4 separate regions of the Homo sapiens genome follow, and all the other regions are linked to region 2. Evidence: promoter capture Hi-C in human tissues and cell types (Jung and others, 2019). All regions are on one chromosome and are shown on one strand. Each heading gives the region's core, a stretch centred on a gene start or on the middle of the fragment in contact. The rest is flanking DNA. Distances are from core to core; before and after follow the strand shown.

Region 1 (3,751 bases), core at 272-2,771, 850 kb after region 2:
CTTGAATAGGTTTCTGAAGATGCCTTATGGGCGGGGTGTCCTCACCTACGGAGCCCAGTTGGGCGGTGTCTCCTGCAGGGGCCTTGCTTCGGGGTGTCCTGCTTGCCATCCAGGGCTGTCCTCAGAAGCCAGCTGTGGCTGTCCTGCCTGGCCTTATCCAGGCTATGAGATTCTCTCGTCAACTTGCGGCTTGCTGAGTCTGGGATGGGGGTGAAGGTGGCTCCGTGTGGGCTTCAAATCCGGACTGTGCTGCACAGGGCCCTTCCTTTTTTGTCCTTGGGTAGGTCCTGTTAGGATGTGAACCCACTTGGGGGCCACTGCAGGCAAGCAGGACAGTCTACTGGGTGTTCCTGCCTGGACAGGGTCATTGGCAAGTCCCCAGCCCCTGCCCCTGCCATCAGGGCTGCTGTCTGAGATGTGTAATGTTCTGTGAGACTATGCTAAGGCCATGCCTGGCATGAGTCTTGGGATGGACACAGTGGCAAGCAGGATCAGGCTGTCCTGGCCTTGCTCCGGACACTGCTGTGCACCTTACAGAGCAAGGTCGAGGCAGTGGAGTGAGGAGGTGGAGAGGGCACCTTACAGAGCAAGGTTGAGGCGGTGGAGTGAGGAGGTGGAGAGGGCACCTTACAGAGCAAGGTTGAGGCGGTGGAGTGAGGAGGTGGAGAGGGGAGCTGACTCTGCTGGGGTTGTGCTTTGGCAGGGCTGGGGATGTGCTTTGGGAGGGTTTGGGGGCATATTTTGGGGCTGGAGGTGTGTTTTGGGTAGGGCCGGGGGCATGTTTTGGGCAGGGCTAGGGGTGTGTTTTGGGCAGGGCTGGGGGTGTGTTTTGGGCAGGGCTGGGGACATGTTTTGGGCAGGGCTAGGGGTGTGTTTTGGGCAGGGCTGGGGGTGCGCTTTGGGAGGGTTTGGGGGTGCGTTTTGGGCAGGGCTGGGTAGATACCTGGGAAGAATCCTGGATGCTGGTGAGGCCTGAGCTGTGTCTGGAGAGCTGAGTGGCCTTAGCTGGGGAGGGCAGGAGAGGCAGCTACTCCAGGCAGCGGGAGGCCCAAGGGAAGGCACAGCAGTGCTGGACTCCTAGTAGGCAGGTCTGACTCGGGTCAGCCTGTGAGGGTCTTGGGAGGCAGGGTGAGGCCTGGGCTTTTCTGATGGCTGTTGGTGCTGAGCAGGGAACCCGGGGCCCAGGCTGAGGTTTGCCGAAGAGGTCTGGAGACAGGGCTGGGTGGAGCAGTGCCACACCGAGGGCCTGTGTCTGGAGCCTGCAGGGGCCAGGCTCCATGCCTTGGCACTGTGTGCTGGGTGCCTTGTGGTGGCTGCGCTGTGGGCCCCCTCGATGGATTGGTGGGCTAGCCACGCAGCTGAGTGGACTGGCAGCAGCTGCTGCTCATTGTCCTGGCAACCCTGGGCTTCAGGCTGCAGGCTCGAGCCCTCCCCAGCATGGAAGCCAGTGAGCAGAGCCAGGCACTCACGCTGGCCTGGGAGCCTCTGGCCCAGTGCTGTGGCCAGATCAACTGTTGTTTTCTTCCACAGTGGAAGATTGCCTCGTTTTCTCCCTCTGATTTGCCCTGTGGGGAGGGCTACAACCCAGCCCTGACTTACGTAACATCCAGGTAGGGACACAGCATTGCCACATCTTAGCCGTGGGACCCTGGCCATGTCACTTGGCCCCTCCAGGAGCCCTGCCTTTCCATGTCATTAGTCTGATCCTGCAGCCTCCTGGGAGGTGGGCAGCATTGTGTCTGTCCCAGAGACTTGGAATCTCCGGGCGTCTTGGGGGACATCACCTGAGGGGTGTAGGGAAGAATTCCCAAGGTGCACAGAGGGGCTGTGGAAGGTCAGGGAGTGCAGCCCCAGGGTAGGCGGAGCTGCCTCTCTCCTGTGAGACCCTCGGGCTGCCTCGCCACTGCCACACAGAGGGGCTGTGGAAGGTCAGGGAGTGCAGCCCCAGGGCAGGCGGAGCTGCCTCTCTCCTGTGAGACCCTCGGGCTGCCTCGCCACTGCCACACATAGGGGCTGTGGAAGGTCAGGGAGTGCAGCCCCAGGGCAGGCGGAGCTGCCTCTCTCCTGTGAGACCCTCGGGCTGCCTCGCCACTGCCACACATAGGGGCTGTGGAAGGTCAGGGAGTGCAGCCCCAGGGCAGGTGGAGCTGCCTCTCTCCTGTGAGACCCTCGGGCTGCCTCGCCACTGCTACACACATCACAGAGCTTGCTCTACCTGGTCAGCCATGGCACGGCCAGCTCGCACAGTAGACCTGAGCGTCAGGCTGTCTTGGATTCTGATTATAACAACACCTCCTGCTTTTGACCACAGGGCATCTGTCAGGCACCTGCTAGGCTCTTCCTGCTCCTCAGATCAGGAAACTTCCCAGCCTTGGGAAACTTACCTGAAGTCACGGGGGTGGTAAATGCCCAGCCATGACTTGAGCCCTGGTGTTCTCACCAGGATTCTGATCAGAGGCAGAAATCAGAGGCATTGCTCACCGTTCTGCTGCCCGGCCCACCTGGCGATCCTGCCCTGCTGCTCTCCAGGGGGACCAGGCTGGAAGCAGCTTTACAAACAAAAATTCCCTGTTGAGTTAGAGGATGTTATTAATAATGGCAATTACTGCACTAATAAAGACCTAATCCTGTCCCTCCCTTCCATCTTGAGATGATGTTCCAGAGCAGAGTGTGGCAGGGGTTCACAGGCTTGAAGGAATCCAGGTATGGAGGTTGAGATTTCTGATGGAGAGGGGAGGTGGGCGGAGCTCAAGATTCTTGTTCCCATAAGGCTTGAGGCTAGGAGGTCGGGGTGGTGTGAGCCCCCAGAGGCTGTGGTTGCCTGTGGATGGTGTCTAGCTGAGTCAAGCGTTTCCAGGGCTTTGGGGCCAGGTGCGCGGGTGTGTGCGTGTGTGTGTGTGTGTTTGTGTTTATCGCCTGAGCCTGACCCTGGGTGTCATCTGAGGGGTGCACACTGAACCTGTACCAATGGGAAGCTGGGCATTGGAGGGGTGATGGTGAAGGAGTTGAGTGTGGCATGGTCTGGGGAAGATGAGGGCCAGTGTTCTGAGGGCATGGGTCATCAAGGGTCCTGTCAGAGAGCCACGGACAAAGAGAGCCACAGGCGTCTGCCCTGGACAGAGCCACGGACAAAGAGAGCCACAGGCGTCTGCCCTGGACAGAGCGGGCCACCTTGGCTGCCCTCCATCTGGACCCATGATCCATTCTAGCGAAGTATTTGGAAGGGGACATGTTTTTAAACCAGAGCCCAGAATCAGTCTCTCCCAACATTAGAAAGAAGCAACACAACACAGCAGCCTCCTTCCTGGGCTGGCTGCCCTCGGTGCTAATGAGGAGCTGGATTCCTTGCTGGGAGTCTGACCTCCTTCCCGCTGCTGCTCACTTGTGGGAAGGTGCTGATGAGCGTGGTGTGCTGGGAGTGGGCGCAGGAGGCGGAATTGCAAGTGGGGAGAACCGTTGCTTCTGCTGCTTCGTGGTACCTGGGCGTTTTCGCCGGTCACAGCCTCCAGCCTGGGCCCCTTAATTCTGCATCTTGCTGAGGGGTAGATCCGGCGGTGCCGCCCCCTGGCGACAGATCTTCCTGGCAGCTCCAGCCTCACTGTCACTTGGCATCTGCGGTGCTCCATGGGCTTTCCAGCCCCTGGGAAACCTGCTGCGCTGACTCCGCAGGCTGCCTGCAGCCTGCCCCCCGTGTCTTTGCTGGGGCCGCCCCTCTGCCTGGAGTGGCCCCGACTGGTGACCTCCTGGGCTG
Region 2 (3,485 bases), core at 493-2,992:
TGCCCAGGATAGAGGATCACAGCCCAAGCTGGCTGGAGTTTGAGGCCGGGGTCCAGCTCTGGTAGGAAACAAAGGTGAGAACCAAGAACCAGCACAGAAGACCAGTCGACCAGCTGTTTGCCTCATGGGCAGGGCGGAGCTGGAGAAACGGCAGCTCTCCAGGGCATGGCGGGAACCTATCTGGCTCTCTGCAGACTCCACTCCACGGCGGGGCGGGGGGTGGTTTGTGAACCCACTGAGCCTAACGGCTGCTGCCCGAGGCCTGTGTGGGGGTCCTCCATGCTGTACAGCACTGTTCCTTCTTCCAGACACTTGTCACTGCACGTGTGGCTGGTCACTGACATGGCAGTCTCCTTATGCGACAGGGTCTCCTGAAGGCGAGGATCGTATCTTTTTTATCTCCAAATCCTAGTCACATACTGTGGTCAGGGAACATTCTCCATAACGGCTCTGTCGACTCAACTTAGGCTGGCAGGTGCTAACCGGCAGAGACTGGAATGACTCACTTCTCTACACGCTGCCCACCCTGAGAAATAAAATATTTCTTAAAAGCAGAGTGGACTGGCCGGGCGCGGTGGCTCATGCCTGTAATCCCAGCACTTTGGGAGGCCGAGGTGGGCGGATCACGAGGTCAGGAGATCGAGACCATCCTGGCCAACATGGTGAAACCCTGTCCCTACCAAAACACAAAAAATTAGCTGGGCGTGGTGGCACGTGCCTGTAGTCCTAGCTACTCAGGAGGCTGAGGGAGGGGAATTGCCTGAACCCAGGAGATAGAAGTTGCAGTGAGCAAAGGTCGCGCCAGTGCACTCCTGCCTGGCGACAGAACAAGACTCCGTCTCAAACAAAAAAACCAAACCAAACCAAAACAAAAAACCCCACACGCAAAAAACAAAAACGGATTGGACCATAGCGATTTTCTTGGCCTCACCTCACAGGCCTGTAGACAGGAGTGATTAGCTAGTTACAAACAGCGCAACCCACGCTTGCCACACCCCTAAAGACTGGGGTTCTGGTTCTGTCGTGCAACTCCAGCGTAGCTCCGTCGCCTCTCTGGGCGGAGGACCCTTCACTTGTAATATGAAGCTCTGGGTATCCGTGGGCGGTAAGGGCTGCCTAGAAAACCTCACTCACCCTGGCGCCTCCCTCCACTACTTTCAGGGATCTGGGTCTCATGGAGAGACTGGAACATTAGTGGGCTTGAGATTCAGGGGCAATCTGCACTAAAACAGCCTGCTGGGTCCACGGCCTGCCAGGGGCCTGCTAGCTGTGCCAAGGCCTGAGATGCCAGGCATCTGAGCCAGGCGGAGGGGCCCGCCAGGGTCCCGTGCGTGCTCCTAGTTAGAGGCTCTCCTTTCAACGGCAGAGCCCCGCGGCCCACGTGCAGAGCTAGGTCGGCCTCGGGGCCGGCGCCCGGGAGGTGCTCAAAGCCGGGTCTTGCCACATCCCTGGAGCGCCGGGGTGCGGGGAGGCGGCGGGGCCCATACCGACGCTGCGCGTCCTGGGCCGGAGGCGGCAGGCAGGAGCCCAGTGAGTACCTGGCTGGAGACGAGAGGCGACGAGGACCTCCCGCTGCAGAGCGCGGACGCGCCCGGGCCCTACCAGGACTGCTGGAGGGCGGGGAGAGGCGCGCGCCCCTCGCGGGGGCCGGAGGCAGGAAAGGAGAGCCCTAGATGCGGGACCCCCCAACAGCTCCCCACCAGTGCCAGCGTCCCCGTCGGCCCTAGGCACCGGCAGGAAATGCCCGCCCGCTGACCCGCCCCTTCCGGCGGCCGCGCTAGGAGCCTGGGCCGGACTCGGTGATGGTGGGCGGTGGAGGGCTCGGCCCGAGCGGCTCCATCCCCAGCCGACTCCGCCCCCGAAGACCCCGCCCCGATCAGGCCCCGCCCCCTCAGGCTTCACCCATAACTGCCGCCACGCCCGCAGGGTCCTCCCCGAGCTGACCCCGCCCCTTTACAGTCGTCTATGGCAGGCGCCCTCCCGAAGGCTCCCCCGAAATCAGGTCCCTCCCCGAGCGGGCCCCGCCTCCGAAAGCTCCTTCCCGAGCCGGCTTCCCCTCATGCCCCGCCCCCTCAGGCTCCGCCCTCGTGTCCCGCCCCCGAAAGTTCCTCCCCAGCCACCTCCCCACATGCTCCGCCCCCAGGCTCCGCCCCATGTCCCGCCCCCAAAAAGCCCCGCCCCGAACCGGCACCCTCATGCCCCGCCCCCAGCGGCCCCGCCCCGCAAGGCCCAGTCCCCAGCAGCTCGGTCCCGAGCCGACCCTGTCACGTAGGCTGCGCCCACCAGACTCTCCGGATCCGACGCGCGTGGGCTCCTGGCTCCAGACCCCCAACGGGGAGGTCGCGGCCGCGTGCTGGGAGACTTGTCCCTGAGGACGCTCCCCGCCAACCCCCAGCCCCCGCCGACCCCCAGCTCCCGCCTCCGCCGACCCCCAGCCCCCGCCTCCGCGGCGCCCACGGCTTGCCTCCACGGGAAGTCGCTGTCTCCGCCTTCAGCGCGGAAGGAGAACCGACGCCTCTCCAGGCCGCGGGCCCCTAGCTAGGCGGGCAACGCCTCCACCGCCGCCGCCACCGCGTGCGCGCCCTGGCGAGCCGTCCCCCACCACGTGGCCCCTGCCGCTCCTCCCGCCGCAGGCAGCCCCTCCGGGATGTGCTCCCAGCCGCTGGCTGTGCTCACTCCACTTCCTGCCTGCCCAGATCGCACTGAGCCGCCAGGCCCGCCAGAGCCCCGCGTGTTAGTTCCCTACGTACCGCAAATTGGGTGTCCTAAAACGACATCCGCCTATTATCTCAAGGCTTCTGTGGGCCAGAAGGCCAGGCTTAGCTGGGTCCTCAGCTCTGGTCAGCCGCTGTGTTCTCATCTGGGGGCTGGACTGGGGAAGGATCACTTCCCACCTCATGCGATTGCTGGCAGAAGTCATGTCCTGGTGCCTGTAGGACTGAGGGCCGGCAGGAGCTGCTCTCAGCTCCCGGGGGCTGCCTGCCAGTCCCTACTGTGGGAGGGTGGGCGGTTCACAGGGTGGCCGCTTCCCCAGGGTCCGTGGGAGAGCCCCACCCCCAGATGGAGTCCTGTGGAACAGAACCTAATTGTGGGTGACATGCCACCCCCTCGGCCCAGTTCTACTCAGATTCAAGTCACAAGTGCCGCCTGTAGCCAAGGGAAGGATGGGCATTGGGCTGGCTCTGGCACATCTCCTTAGGATATCTGCAGCATTCTGCCCCCCCAACACTTCCCATTTCCACTTTCTATATGATTTCCTTATTATATTTATTATTAATTATCCCCCGCTCCCACACTCCCATGCAAATCAGCTCTTGGAGGGCAGCCACCTGTTCTTGTTCTGGGTGCCTGATGTGTGCTGGGCCCTCGTGTCGTGTGGACTGAGTGAGCATGAGTGGAGATCTTAGGTGCTGCTGGTGTCGTGGCACCCTAGGAACTGCCTGCCCCCACCCAGCCCTCTCTCCAACTGCCTCCTGGACTTAGCA
Region 3 (3,471 bases), core at 216-2,715, 570 kb before region 2:
AACCCTCTGAGCCCAGGGCAGGCCAGCTCTGTGCCTTTCTGGGAAGGGGGGTGGTAGGGAGTGACTGATGGACCTGGTTGGTTTTCCTGCAGGTGTGACCCCAGCCCGTCCTCCTATCCCGGTCACCATCCCCTCGGTGGGAGTGGTGAACCCCATCCTGGCCAGCCCTCCAACGCTGGGTCTCCTGGAGCCCAAGAAGGAGAAGGAAGAAGAGGAGCTGTTTCCCGAGTCAGAGCGGCCAGAGATGCTGAGCGAGCAGGAGCACATGAGCATCTCGGGCAGTAGCGCCCGACACATGGTGATGCAGAAGCTGCTCCGCAAGCAGGAGGTAGGCAGAGGGGCAGGGTGGTGGCGGGGGAGAGGGTAGGGGGGCGGGGCCGCAGTGCTCAGCTGTCTTCCCCTCGGCCCTGCCCCACAGTCTACAGTGATGGTTCTGCGCAACATGGTGGACCCCAAGGACATCGATGATGACCTGGAAGGGGAGGTGACAGAGGAGTGTGGCAAGTTCGGGGCCGTGAACCGCGTCATCATCTACCAAGAGAAACAAGGCGAGGAGGAGGATGCAGAAATCATTGTCAAGATCTTTGTGGAGTTTTCCATAGCCTCTGAGACTCATAAGGCCATCCAGGCCCTCAATGGCCGCTGGTTTGCTGGCCGCAAGGTGGTGGCTGAAGTGTACGACCAGGAGCGTTTTGATAACAGTGACCTCTCTGCGTGACAGTGGTCCCTCTCCCCGGACTTGCACTTGTTCCTTGTTTCCTCTGGGTTTTATAGTGATACAGTGGTGTCCCCGGGGCCAGGCGCGCTCTGCCCAGCCCAGCCTACAGTGCGGATAAAGGTGCGGATGCTGCTGGCCCTGAACGTCCGTGTGTCTGCCGTCGGTCCTGTCACCGATCCTGGGCGTGTGTCCTTAGGGGGTCTAGGGCGAGGAGGCAGGGTTGGGGGGGTCTCTGGACCTGCTTCCTGTTGGCAGGAGGGGCCTGCCGTGGGCGAGACCTGGGCAGGGGGTTGGCGCCCCGGGCCCCGTCCCGCGGGTGGCGGCGGCTGGGTGGGCGGGGCTGCCTGGGGCGCCAGGCTCTCGCGCGCGGGCTCGCAGCCGTCCCCGCAGGGTGGTGCTGAGAGAAGGCTGGGCACCGGGACACCGCGACCCGCTGGACAGCGCGCGCTGCCAGTGCTTTTGTGCCGCAGAGCCGGCCGTCCAAGGCGGGCGGGCGGGCATGGTCGCTTCCCGGGAGGAGGCTGTGCGTTAAGATTCGTGGCCAAATGCCGCGGGGCCAGGGGCCGGGCTGAAGACCGGAGGGCGGAGGGCGCCGCCTCTCGTGGATTGTAGCTCCCAATATCCCGCGCGCGGGGCGGGCCCGGCTTCCCGGCACGCTTTGCGCGGTGCCGCTACGGGTCCTCAGAGGCGGCGGCGCGCGGGGCCTTCTGGGGGCCGCAGTCCGGGCGTGCTAGGCGGCGAGGGCCGGACTCGGCTTCCCGACGGGCTGCGCGGCGGCCGGGTGGGTGTCGGCGGGGCAGTCCGGCGGGCAGCGGCGGTTCCGGTGCGGCACAGCGGGCGGACGAGCGGGCGGGACGAGCTGAGCAGGACCAAGCGGGATGCGGAGCCGCCGCCGCCGCCGCTCCCCGCGCTTCCTAAGAGTCTGAGACCCGCCGGGCCGCGCCCCCTGCCCAGGCCCGCAGTCCGAGCGTTCCGAGCGCGGGCCGGGCCCAGCGCCGGCCGCGGCCGCGTCCCCGTCCAGTCTCGGGCGGCCCGCCCCCTGCCTGCGCCCCCTCCCCATGCGCGGCGCCCATGCGGACTGAGCCCCGCCCCCCGGCCCCGAGCCCGCCGAGCGCCGCCGCCGGAGCCCGCGCCGCCCACCCGCACCATGCTCAAGTGCATCCCGCTGTGGCGCTGCAACCGGCACGTGGAGTCGGTGGACAAGCGGCACTGTTCGCTGCAGGCCGTGCCGGAGGAGATCTACCGCTACAGCCGCAGCCTGGAGGAGCTGCTGCTCGACGCCAACCAGCTGCGCGAGCTGCCCAAGGTGAGCGGCCGCCCGCACCTGCCGCCCAAAGGCGCGCCCCCAGCCCGTGATTCCTCCGGCGGCAGAATCTGCCCGGGCGAGTCACCGCAGCCTCCAGCCGGCCCTGCTGGTTTGCACTGGCCAGGTCCCCACCCCAGCCAGCCCCACCCTTCTCTTCCAGCCGCCCTGGCTGGCGCAGGTGGCAGCGGTCATCAGGTGCTTGCCTGGGGATAGCGATTGTCACCGAGCCTGGAGGCGGAGCCTCAGAGTGAAACCCGTGGGGATTCAGGGAGGTGGATGGGGTTAGGGTGGAACTTGGATTCAGGTGGCTGATGAGTACTAGCTTCTTGGGCCGCTCTGGAGGTGGGTCCAGACCTCCTCTCCTTTTTTGCTGGGTGCAGGGGTGAGTGGGGGAGCCCTCTTGATGTACTCTTTGCTCTCGGATCTGTTCGCTGTCCCCCTTTCTTTACCCTTGCTTCTCGTGGTCAGGTGCTCTCCTAAGGCTGCTACAAGAAAGGAGGCTGGAGAAAGCAGATTAAAAAGTATTTCTTTTCTGGAGATGGGGTGCTGGGTGATCAGTACCTAGGGGTTGGGTGTCCCAAAGAATGTGACCCTGTTCTGGCCGTGGCAGTGACAGCTCGGTCCTCTGTGGCCACCTGCAGGCCTCGCGCGTAGCACTGTGCCTGTGGTACTGTGTTATTGTGGGGAGCGTTTACTGAGTTCTTGCTGCAGAACCAGGCCAGGCTTGTTGTCAGGATGCAGTAGCAGAGGCCAGTGTGGGCCCCTGGAGGGTGGCAGAAGTGGTTCAGGGGCTGGGTGGGCCCTGAGGTAAGACACAGGGTAGGGGATTGGGGCTTTGTCTGGTCGCCAGCAGGTGTCTTCTCAGAGTGGAGGCTGGTGTGAAGAGTAGAGGGAGGCAGCCACAGTGGGCGTGTGTACCGTGTGTTTCTTTCCTTTTTTTGCAAATGGGGTGTCGTGGTTAGACCCCAGGACCCGGTGTGACCTGGAGCAGACAGAGGCCTAGGGACTCTTGACTTGTGACACTCACGTGTCCAGGAGCTCTTCTCTGCTCTGCAGTGGTCTCTGCCACAGAGTCCGTGTCCTCCCTGCCCACAGCCTTTTTTCCGGCTGCTGAACTTGCGCAAGCTGGGCCTGAGCGACAACGAGATCCAGCGGTTGCCTCCCGAGGTGGCCAACTTCATGCAGCTGGTGGAGCTGGACGTGTCCCGGAACGGTGGGGAGCCTGGGCAGGGGCTGGGTGGGGTCTGGGGAGTGTCCGCTGGGGCTGCAGACGGCCTGCAGGCCATGGCATCTGTCCACTGTGACCCTCTGTGACAGATATCCCTGAGATCCCGGAGAGCATCAAGTTCTGCAAGGCTCTGGAGATCGCGGACTTCAGCGGGAACCCCCTCTCCAGGTGGGTGGCAGCCTGTGGTGGGGTCGGTAGGGGCTATGGGTCCCACAGCCC
Region 4 (3,464 bases), core at 685-3,184, 530 kb before region 2:
CATACATAAAAATCAACTCAAGATGGATTAAAGACTTAAATGTAAAACTCAAAACTATAAAAACCCTGGAAGACAACATAGGCAATACCATCCTGGACATAAGAACGGGCAAAAATTTCATGACAAAGACACCAAAAGCAATCAAAACAAAAGCAAAAATTGACAAGTAGGATCTAATTAAACATGAGAGCTTCTGCATAGCAAAAGAAACTATCAGCAAAGTAAACAGACCACCTACAGAATGGGAGAGCATATCTGCAAACTATGCATCTGACAGAAGTCTAACATCCAGCATTTATAAGGATCTTATACAAACTTACAAGAGAAAACCCCATTAAAAAGTGAACAAAGAAAATGAACAGACACTTTTCAAAATAAGACATGCATGTGGCCAGCAAGCATATGAAAAAAAGCTCAATATCACTGATCATCAGAGAAATGCAAATCAAAACCACAATGAGGATACACCATCTCATACCAGCCAGAATGGCTACTATAAAAAGTCAAAAAATAACAGATGCTGGTGAGGTTGTGGAGAAAAGGGAACACACACACACTGTTGGTGGGAGTATAAATTAGTTCAGCCACTGTGGAAAGCAGTATGGGAATTCCTCAAAGACCTAAAAGCAGAACTACCATTGGACCCAGCAATCCCATTACTGGGTATATACCCAGAGGAATATAAAGCAGTGTACCATAAAGACACATGCACGCATATGTTGACTGCAGCACTATTCACAATAGCAAAGACATGGACTCAACCTAAATGCCCATCAGTGACAGACAAGATAAAGAAAATGTGGTACATGCACACCGTGGAATACTATGCAGCCATAAAAAAAGAATGAGATCATGTCCTTTGCAGGAACATGGATGGAGCTGGAGGCCATTATCCTCAGCAAACTATCGCAGGAACAGAAAACCAAACACCACATGTTCTCACCTGTAAACGGGAGCTAAAGGATGAGAACTTAGGAACACAAAGAAGGAAACAACAGATACTAGGATCTACTTGAGGGTGGAGGGTGGGAGGAGGGAGGGGAGCAGAAAACTATTGGGTACTGGGCTTAGTTCCTGGTGAGGAAATAATCTGTACGACAAATCCCCATGACTATGTCACCTGCATAACAAACCTTCACATGTACCCCCAAACCTAAAAGAAAAGTTAAAAAAAGATGACTTAACATCTCTGTGCTTAAGTTTCTTTGTATATAATAAAGTCTTTGTATATAATGTAGGAATATTAATAATACTACAATCAGGTTTGTTGAGAGGATTAAACTGGGAACTTTATACATATTTCAGGAAAGTTTTGTAACTTGAAAAAAAGAAGGAAGCAAGCACTATAAAATTCAGGATATGATGATCTGGGGAGAGGTGTGGTGTTCTGGCGATACTTTATTTCTTGAGTCAGGTAGTTACTACATGAGTATTTCCTTTGTGGTAAATAATTGAGCCACAACTTTGATTTCTGCAATATTCTGTATGTCATTTGTAATTAAAAAGGAAAGTCTGAAGATGTATAAAATCAAGGAGTAGCTAAAATGAGAGAAGGGATGAATGGATAACTAGATAAATAGGATGGAAGAGTGAACAGACATACGAATGAGGCAATGATTTTGTAACTTAAAAGAAATTGTGATACTCATTTAAAATAATAATAGCTACCATTTCTTGAGAACTGACTTTGCACCAGGAATTGTGCCAAGGAATTTCATTCACTATCTCATGAATCTTCAAAAAGCTGTTATTAGTCCCATTTCTGAATATATGGAAACAGATTCAAATAAGCTTCAGAACTTGCCAAAGTTCTGTCTGTAAGTGGAAGAACTGGAGTAGACGGAAAATGAATGAAGACAGAAAATAAAAGGATAATATAACGAGTAAACTTACGAGTGTCTTAATGAATAGGCAATAAATGATGAATGAATGAGTAAATTAATGAATTAAACTATAAGAGAATGAAGATTAGATTAATTGAATGAACTGATTAAATGATGAACTGATACATGAAAAATTAATAGATGAATGAGTGTAAAGAATGGATACGTGAGATAAGCAAATGGTTAGTTGAGCAACTGGATGGATGAATTGATGGATGAATTCATCGTTCAACAAAATGTTTCAGTGCCTATCGTGGTCAACCAATACTGGGGCATACGATTAAGGGGTGAACGAGACACAGTCCTTCTTTGCTTTCTCATAATTTTCTGTCAAGTAAACAGCATGAATGCGTGTATGAATGGATGAATGGATGTCTGAATGAATAGTAGATAAAAAATAAGTGAATAATTATTTAAACATGGTGTAAGGGTGGAATGGGCACATTAATGAGTGGATAGCTTATAAGTTTATAAATTTATATATGTTTATAAGTTCATAAATTTATATATAAGCTTATAAATTTATTTATAAGTTTATAAATAAATGACTCATGGCTGGGCATGGTGGCTCACACCTGTAATCCCAGCACTTTGGGAGGCCGAGGCAGGCAGCCCACCTGAGGTCAGGAGTTCGAAACCAGCTGGCCAACATGGCAAAACCCCATCTCTACTTAACATACAAAAGAACAAATTAGCTGGGCGTGGTGGCGCATGCCTGTAGTCCCAGCTACTCTGGAGGCTGAGGCAGGAGAACCGCATAAACCCGGGAGGCAGAGGTTGCAGTGAGATTGCGCCACTGCCCTCCAGCCTGGGTGACAGAGCAAGACTCCATCTCTAAATAAATAAATAAATGACTCAAGTTAATAAGATAATTATGAATTGGCGAAAGCGCAAACCAATACTGGGGCGAGATGGATGAAGTGGGTGAATGTATGGAAACGATGACTGATGAATGATGAAGGGATGGTGATGGACAGCGTGGTTCAGCTCTTCGGTATCATCGCTGATATTCCGTCTACTTGTCTCATCAATTATGGGGAGAGAGAGATGGCAAAATCGCCTATTACCATTGTGGATCTCTTTATTTCTCCTTGTAGTTCTCATAGTTTTTGCTTCATGCATTTTGAAACCCTGTTAGTAGCTGCATGAACATTTAGGATTTTTATGTCCTCATGATGAATTCCTACATTTGTCATTACTAAATGATTCTTTTATCCTTAGTAACATACTTTTTTCTGAAATCTACTTGATGTTAATACAGTTACTTCAGCATCCTGTTTAGTGTTATCTTGGCATATTTGTTTTTATCATTTTAATTTTCAACTATTTGTGCTTTTACATTTAAAGCTTGTTTCTTATAGGTAGAACATAGTTAGCTACAATTTTTAATCCAAAATGACAATCCATCTTTTTTTTTTTTGTTTTGAGACGGAGTCTTACTCTGTCACCCAGGCTGGAGTGCAGTGGTGCGATCTTGGCTCACTGCAAGCTCCGCCTCCTGGGTTCACGCCATTCTCCTGCCTCAGCCTCCCAAGTAGCTGGGACTACAGGCGCCCGCTACGATGCCCGGCTAATTTTTTT

What was found. Contacts are between HindIII fragments. The study calls those that stand out against the background at their distance.
Region 1: a fragment that was not itself captured here is called in contact with the fragment with the promoter of ZFP41 in region 2 in 1 of the 25 tissues and cell types used here (lymphoblastoid cells).
Region 3: the fragment with the promoter of SCRIB here is called in contact with the fragment with the promoter of ZFP41 in region 2 in 1 of the 25 tissues and cell types used here (dorsolateral prefrontal cortex).
Region 4: a contact is called between a fragment that was not itself captured here and the fragment with the promoter of ZFP41 in region 2, in 1 of the 25 tissues and cell types used here (dorsolateral prefrontal cortex).

The regions. Positions count from the first base shown.
Region 1 is chr8:142,395,387-142,399,137 of GRCh38, reverse strand. All of the region lies in intron 1 of TSNARE1 (t-SNARE domain containing 1), which reads left to right. Among named protein-coding and RNA genes, the nearest start is that of TSNARE1, 5.9 kb to the left of the region's middle. RefSeq lists an enhancer at 2,025-2,526. The HindIII fragment of the contact is 4,419 bases long and covers 1-3,730 here.
Region 2 is chr8:143,245,196-143,248,680 of GRCh38, reverse strand. It overlaps ZFP41 (ZFP41 zinc finger protein), which reads right to left and starts at 1,742. Exons shown (of 3, transcript NM_173832.6): 1 at 1,539-1,742. RefSeq lists silencers at 1,308-1,357, 1,398-2,287, 2,488-2,647. The HindIII fragment of the contact is 22,994 bases long and covers 1-3,485 here.
Region 3 is chr8:143,813,767-143,817,237 of GRCh38, reverse strand. It overlaps SCRIB (scribble planar cell polarity protein), which reads left to right and starts at 1,465. Exons shown (of 37, transcript NM_182706.5): 1 at 1,465-2,024; 2 at 3,120-3,237; 3 at 3,342-3,420. The coding sequence starts at 1,866. It overlaps PUF60 (poly(U) binding splicing factor 60), which reads left to right. Exons shown (of 12, transcript NM_078480.3): 11 at 93-328; 12 at 419-894. The coding sequence ends at 718. RefSeq lists enhancers at 873-1,505, 1,506-2,138, 2,423-3,087. The HindIII fragment of the contact is 41,605 bases long and covers 1-3,471 here.
Region 4 is chr8:143,778,039-143,781,502 of GRCh38, reverse strand. The region is part of intron 7 of IQANK1 (IQ motif and ankyrin repeat containing 1); the gene reads right to left. Among named protein-coding and RNA genes, the nearest start is that of MIR937, 33 kb to the left of the region's middle. The HindIII fragment of the contact is 4,347 bases long and covers 1-3,464 here.